Linked DNA regions of Homo sapiens: region 2 is linked to region 1. The links are contacts of gene promoters, found by promoter capture Hi-C in blood cells and fetal thymus (Javierre and others, 2016). All regions are on one chromosome and are shown on one strand. Each heading gives the region's core, a stretch centred on a gene start or on the middle of the fragment in contact. The rest is flanking DNA. Distances are from core to core; before and after follow the strand shown.

Region 1 (3,616 bases), core at 589-3,088:
TTTTGGGAAATGGTGCATGAACCACTTTAGCATGCTTCACCATGGTGGTTAGGTAGATGGTGGACTGAGTGAGAAAACGACAAAACTCTTACTAAATAGTGACACTGTGTGAAGAACCCTGCTAGGCGCCTTCATACAAATCACCTGGTTTCAACCCTGTGACCATTAAGTGAATAATTGTGTCATCTCTGACACAGGAGGGAACTGAGGCTCACAGAAGTTATGTGGATTGTCAGGGGCTGCAGAGTAAGGATGTGGTAGACCTGAGATTGGAACCCGGGGCTTCTGGGGGCAAGTCCTGCGTAAAGCAATGGTTTTGAGATGCTTCAGATGTAAGCAAACCTTGGTCTTCAAGTTCTATAATTGGACTTTTCTTCCTATTATGTGAAGAATAGAAAACACTTAATCGTGGAAAAGTTCTTATAAACCAAGTAAGATTAAAGGAAAATAGGGTATGTAGAAAATCTGGCTTGCTTTGTTTGAAAGGGAGACTGAAGGAGTCTTTAAGATCCAAGGAGAAAAGAAAGAAAAAATTGCCCAAACAGCCCAGGAAGGAGAAGAAAGGATGAAAGGGACGGCTAAGGAGGATAGAGGAAAGGAAACTGGGGATCGTTGTCACAGCCCAAAGTGAGGCTTCAGGGCAAGATTAGGGAAGGCAGTCTGGATGGTCATAAGTAAAACTACTGGGACATCATGACCCTGCATTAACGTAGAATGAGTCTGGTTATCAATGGGCAGCTTAAGAAAAACAGAATGGCAAATCTACTTGTCATGTGACAAATAAAATGGGATTGTCAATTATTTATTATTATTATTATTATTTTCATCCATGACCTGTGAATCAATTACTTTTATCTGCACTGATGGAGAAATGAAGAGTTCCCCTTCAAAATAACTTCAGAGCAGCTTGCGCTTGGGAAGCACGTGGATTCAACCTGGCTTCTGCCTTTTACTTAAGCGGAATGGGCTTTATCCATCTTCAGGGGCAGAGAGAATTAAGATTAAAGCCAAAACAATTGATATGTTTTAATAGAAACAAATCCAGTCCTCTTCTCTGAGGTATTGACCTCGTTTTAAGGAAGAAAAAAAGACAGCGAGAGAGAGGTTTTGTTGCTAAAGCTGGAATACTCTTTCAAAGAATCTAATGATCGCTTATTAGAATAAAATTAAATATGTGAAATATTTTTTAACTAAAAGCAGGATTTTCAAATATTATATAAGATAACCATAACATATGGCATTGTTTGAAGGCATGCTGTTTAAAGTGAGAGCAATTCTGCAAATTAACCGTAAGCTACTTTGAGAATCCCATCTTATTGTTCAATAAGACTCTGGACCCCACGCTGTGTTACTGCAACAGCTCCATTGTGGCGGTGCCTGGCAACCCGGGTGGAAATTAAAATGACAAAGCGGCTAGTCCAGCATCTTGACCGCGGCAGATCTCTCTAGTCACCCTGCAGCCGCTCCTCACCCACAAATTCACAAGCAGCCAACCCAAACTGTACATTTTCAGAAGAGCTCATTACTCACAGCTGTACAGCACGCTGAAGGCCCTCTCGTCTCTGTCCTCTCCGAAGGCGGGTATGTTAAAGGAAAGTGGCCCCTTACCTCCCCCAAGCAGCTGCAGTGGCCGAGCCCTGGTTTCCCAAGGCTCAGGGGACGGATGGCCAACAACACCATGGAGCCTGCCCGTCCCCAGGCCGCTCCTGCAGCTGCCCTCGCTGGCCACCCAGCTGGAACCTTGGACTTACTGGGGGCTGTGGGCATCAGGGTCTCTCGGCCTTTGTTTTCCTCCAGTGCCATCAGCAGTTCCCAGCGTGACTGTCCCGCAGCCGCACTGGGTCCAGGCGGCTCCTGCCGCAGTCAGTCGCTCCCCCTACCCAGCAGCCTTTTTTTTTCTTCTTAAAGAGACAGGACTGTCATCAACCTTAGGTGTCAATAATGCTGCAAGTGCAGCATTGTCGTTCATTGTGGGGGTGACAACCAACCACACGTTTTTGTTCTCTTCACTTGCAAAGGCTAATTTTTAGCAGTAGGTATGGCTAACAGAAGACTGGCTCTATTAAACACCAGTTGTGTGACCTTAGACAAGTCACTCATGGGTCTCGAGTACCTCATGGGAAATGAAGACCTGTGACCTGGTAATGTTGTAGCTCACAATCTGCTTTTTGTATGTTATTTGGAGTTGTTTATGAGGTTCCAATGGTTAAAAAAAAAAGCATTCACTCAAAATGTGTGGTAAACTGTGAAATGCTATACAATTGATCCTGTTCTAAGTTGAAATTGCTAGTCTCAATTTAATAATACAAAATATTGTAACTCTATTTTCTTGCTTCCTCTGATGGGGTATGTGAAATACCACCAGCATTTATTTCATTTCGGCGCACAGCTATCCTGCCACTGGCCTGGGTACATCATATTCCTCATGATAGTCTCCTAGTAGAACTGCCTGCTTTATCCATATAAATCTAGAATTTTGGCTTATCTGGAAATACTGGATCTCGGAAGCTTCTTATTGCTTCGTTCCTGCGGAAAATTCCTCTTAAGTCAGTTCAAACAACTCCAGACCTGAAAAGGCTCAAATGATCTCTCCTGGGAGAAGACCAAAGCAAGCCCCAAATGTCAGCAGCAACTGGGGAAGGAGAGCCCCTGCTTCTTGTACCTGGCCCTGCACTGGTCTGACCCAGAAGATGCCACATCTAATGGTGTCTCCTTCACATCCTAGACTCACAGATTTGTGTACATATTATTTCCTGGGAGATAGGTGGGAGACCTGTTCTAACAAAAGGACTGAATAATCACAAACAAAGCACATTTCTATTGGGGAGAAATGGTGTCTTGCAGGGCCTTTTCATTGAGCTCTCACTGTAGCACCGTGTGGACCAACAGGCCCTCGGTGGCATGCGCCTGTGGAGTGAGGCTGCCTCTCTGAGGCTACCACCATTCTTACATGGTTCAGTTGTAATCAGTTTAATTCAGCACACAAATATTGAGCCCTTGCTTGTTCCTGGCATCAGCTAGACACCGTAGACTAAACGGTGAATACCCAGTATGTTGCTCCCCCAGCAGGCTCTTCTACTCACAGCTGTAAACCATTACACCCCCAAAGGGAAAAGTTATAAATAACTACATATATATAAACTATATATATAATATATATGTATAGTTTTCAGAGAGGTTAGACGATTTTGCCTACCTACTCACACTACATAAAAGTATCCAGTGAAATATTGATTATTCAGAAATAGTGTTGCTTAGCCAGGTGTGGTGGTACATGCCTGTAGTCCTAGCAACTCAGGAGGCTGAGGAAGGAGGATTGCTTGAGGCCGGGAGTTTGAGACCAGCCTGAGCAACATAGCAAGACCTCAGGTTGGGCGCAATGGCTCACGCCTGTAATCCCAACACTTTGGGAGGCCGAGGTGGGTGGATCACTTGAGGCCAGGAGTTCAAGACCAGCCTGGCCAACATGATGAAACCCCATCTCTACTAAAAATACAAAAATTAGCTGGGTGCAGTGGTGTGCACCTGTAATCTCAGATACTTGGAGGCTAAGGCAGGAGAATTGCTTGCACCTGGGAGGCAGAGGTTGCAGTGAGCTGAGATTGTGCCACTGCAC
Region 2 (3,616 bases), core at 415-2,914, 790 kb after region 1:
CTCTATCTCCTTTGAAATAAATTGACAATGTACGAGATTCATTGAGATGACATTTGCCACACCTTTCATTCAAAAGATGTTTATTGAACATGTACCAGGTACTAGATTCTGGGGGAAAAAAATAAGTTGTAAACAAACTGTCTTCTGCTCCATGCAGCTCTGACTCATATCTTTCTTCTTTGTATTTTAAGCTGTTTCTGTAACCTTTCCCACAAAGTACATATAAGTGAAATTCTTTCTGTTAAGAGACTATTACCTGTCCTAATGTCACAGCACCTGTGGGTGTCACTTGACCAGCTGGAAACCTCTGTGGGCTGGCAGTGCCTCTGCTTGAGTTTTGCTCGTGCCCACTAGCCTCGTTCCACCCATTCTGCCCAGCAGGCTGCATTCGGCTTGCACTGCCAGCCCAGATCCCATGCCTGCCAAGGGCAAACCAGGAATGGAGCAGCGAGGGGTGTGTGAGTGAGTGAGCATGGAGTCCAGCCTCTGCACACAGCCAGGCATGTCAGCTGTTGCAGCAGGGCAGGCAGCTCCAGGTGCCGGCACAGGTGCTGGCTCCATGCAAGGCTGTGGCTGGACCAGATGCACTGTAGCTGGCTTCCGCTGCAGGCACCAGCGTGTGGACGAGGGGAACGTGGTGACGAGTGAAAGCTCAGAGATACCAGGAATCACAGAGCCCCAAAGAGGGTGTTACGGCCTGTCACAGCCTGGTTCTCATCTGGGCTCCCAGAAGGGCCACAGCTCTCTTCTTCTCATCACCTGCATTACAGCAAGCAGGGGGGCTTGTTTCTGGGAGTATGTTTCACCCCATTTGTGTTATATCTCCTTCAGTCCCACTGCCCCACTCCAGCATGCAGCTCTTGGGCTGGTCTAGCCCCACCACTGCTTCCTGTTGCATGTTGCAGCTGCCTGGTGCTGGTGGAAATTGGGAGGGTTATAGTGTTACAACTTTAGTTGAGGGAATCCCAAGGTTTGGGCCCCCAGAAGGGTTGCCACTCTTCACGCCTGCAGTCCAGGGGCATGTCACTGTCTGTAGCTCGGTGAGCTGGCCAGGAATTTGTTGCAGCCCCTTTAACTCCCACCTGCAGCTGGGCGAGCCATCCGGGAAAGTGTTACAGCTCCTTTCGCTCCCACCATTGGGCAGGTTCCACATCCAGGAAAAATGAAGTTACGTGGACAAACGGAGGGTGAGCAAGGCTGAGAAGAGCTTTATTGGGTGACTGAACAACTCTCAGCCCATAGGAGACCTGGAATGTGTTGCTCCTCTCTGCAGGCAGGTAGTCCCAATGAGTGGCGGAGTCTGGGGGTTTTTATAGGCTCAGAATGGAGGAAGTGCATGCTGATTGGTCCATGGGCAGGCCTGGAAAAAGCACCATTTGATTGGTTGAAAGGCATCAAGGAAGTTCTCACTCCAGGTCGCTGACTTCACACGAAATTGGCATCTGTGCCCTGAGGCTTCAGGCTGTCCCTGGCTTGAAGGTGGGGTTTCACTGCGGACCCGCCCCTTCCCACCTAGGTACCTGTCCACCTCCCACCACCATCACTAAGTCTGTTTAATTTCCTAGGAATGAATTAGGAACATGCAGTTTGGTACCTGTCGGCCTTTGAATGATGCTTGTTTAAAGAGATTTTTATGATGGGTTATTGTACTTATTTTAGAGTAGATCATAAGCACCTCATTAATTGACTAAGCTAATAGCTGTCAAGGTTACAACAGCAGTTTTTTTCATATTCTATCAAACATCTTTATAATTTTCACTTTATAAACACTGAGTAATATTACCTTACATAGCTGGAAGATGGGGAAATGCATTCATGTGTATATATTGCAGATTATTCTTCACATACATTTCTAGATTGATTTGCAGGTATAGATGGTGCTTGCCATAGAGAATAATCCCCTAGCAAATGCTCCTTCCCACCCATCCCTGGGGAGGACCTCAGTTTTGTCTTAGCACCTACAGATGAATGATTGCACAGCAAGTTTGCAGACTCAGAAGCCAGGACAGCCTCTGCACTGTCCATCTTGACCTTTGCTGTACAGACAGACCTGGTTAGTAGAACCTTTGTAGAAAGACCTAGAAAGTAGGACTATCGCAGAGTACTTTCAGATTGAGATTAGTCTCAAGGTCCCCTGGGCAGCCAGAGAAGTGAGACTGCATATTGTCTGTTACCTGAGGTTCCCGTGGAGAGCTCACCAGTTTGAGAGGTCTTGACTATTGAGAACCGTCTGCTCATTTGCATATTTGAGCCTGTGGAGCAGTTGTAAGGACACAGGAGTAGTTACCAGACTTAGGAAGGAGTTCCAGTTCTGTTGGCTCCTGTTTGTACAACTGACCAAACTTCACTAATTCCTGGGTGAGATGAAGGATGAAGGGTAACATTCCTTCCACTAAACACCCTACCTGCGCCACTCGTAGTTTGTAACCTCCCCTCCCTAAAAAAGGATTTGTATATGTCTGGAGGGTTTTTTTATGTTAAAGATTGGATTTTATTTTCTGCTTAACAGAATTATTTTTTTAAAAATCATTGAAATATTTTATTCCTGAGAACCTGTTAAGTGAATATATATGAACTAGTGTGTAGTTATTTGCCAGGGTGATTTTGACCATTTTATGGTTTTATATGTATATTTGCTATTGTTAGTTATATCAAATTTAATTTCTACCCACAAAAGATCACCAAAGATAGAAAGCAGAACAACAATTATATTGAAATTCAGTTTATTAAAGGTGCGTGCACATGTTGATAATTCTACGAATTTGCCTCCAGATATTCATCACATTTTTCAGTTGCAGTCATTTCTTCAAAATTCTTTTTTTTTTATTGAGACAGTCTCATTCAGTTACCCAGGCTGGAATGCAGTGGTGCGATCTTGGCTCACTGCAACCTTTGCCTCACAAGTTTAAGCAGTTCTCATGTCTCAGCCTCCCAAGTAGCTGAGATTACAAGCGTGTACTAACATGCCAGCTTAATTTTTGTATTTTTAGTAGAGACAGGGTTTTGCCGTGTTGGTCAGGTGGTCTCAAACTCCTGGCCTCAAGTGATTCGCCTACCTCAGCCTTCCAAAGTGCTAGGATTATAGGTGTGAGCCACCACGCCCGGCCTCAGAATTCTTATATAGCACATCAGGCTTCCTCTTGTACTTTTGTTTTCTTGAGATGGAATTTCACTCACTCTGTCACCAGGCTGGAGTGCAATGGTGCATCCCAGCTCACTGCAACCTCTATCTCCCGGGTTCAAGCGATTCTTCCGCCTCAGCCTCCCGATTAGCTAGGATTACAGGCACCTGCCAGCATGCCCAGCTAATTTTTTGTAAAAATAGGGTTTCTCCCCTCTTGTACTCTTTTTTTTTTTTTTTTTTTTTTTGAGACGGAGTCTAACTGTGTCGCCTAGGCTGGAGTGCAGTGGCGTAATCTCGGCTCACTGCAAGCTCCACCTCCCGGGTTCACGCCATTCTCCTGCCTCAGCCTCCTGAGTAGCTGGGACTACAGGCACCTGCCACCATGCCCGGCTCATGTTTTCTATTTTTTTAGTAGAGACGGAGTTTTACCATGTTAGCCAGGATGGTGTCGATCTCCTGACCTCGTGATCTGCCTGCCTCAGCTTCCCAAAG

Evidence for each region. Contacts are between HindIII fragments. The CHiCAGO score rates a contact against its expected background, and 5 or more counts as called.
Region 2: a contact is called between a fragment that was not itself captured here and the fragment with the promoter of SACS in region 1, in 1 of 17 cell types (total B cells). The highest score is 5.3, in total B cells.

Annotation. Positions count from the first base shown.
Region 1 is chr13:23,431,864-23,435,479 of GRCh38, forward strand. SACS (sacsin molecular chaperone) reads right to left here and starts at 1,839. Exons shown (of 10, transcript NM_014363.6): 1 at 1,752-1,839. RefSeq lists an enhancer at 1,091-1,658. The HindIII fragment of the contact is 4,074 bases long and covers 1-2,506 here.
Region 2 is chr13:24,224,763-24,228,378 of GRCh38, forward strand. All of the region lies in intron 2 of SPATA13 (spermatogenesis associated 13), which reads left to right. Among named protein-coding and RNA genes, the nearest start is that of SPATA13-AS1, 28 kb to the right of the region's middle. RefSeq lists an enhancer at 212-1,068. The HindIII fragment of the contact is 5,204 bases long and covers 1-3,616 here.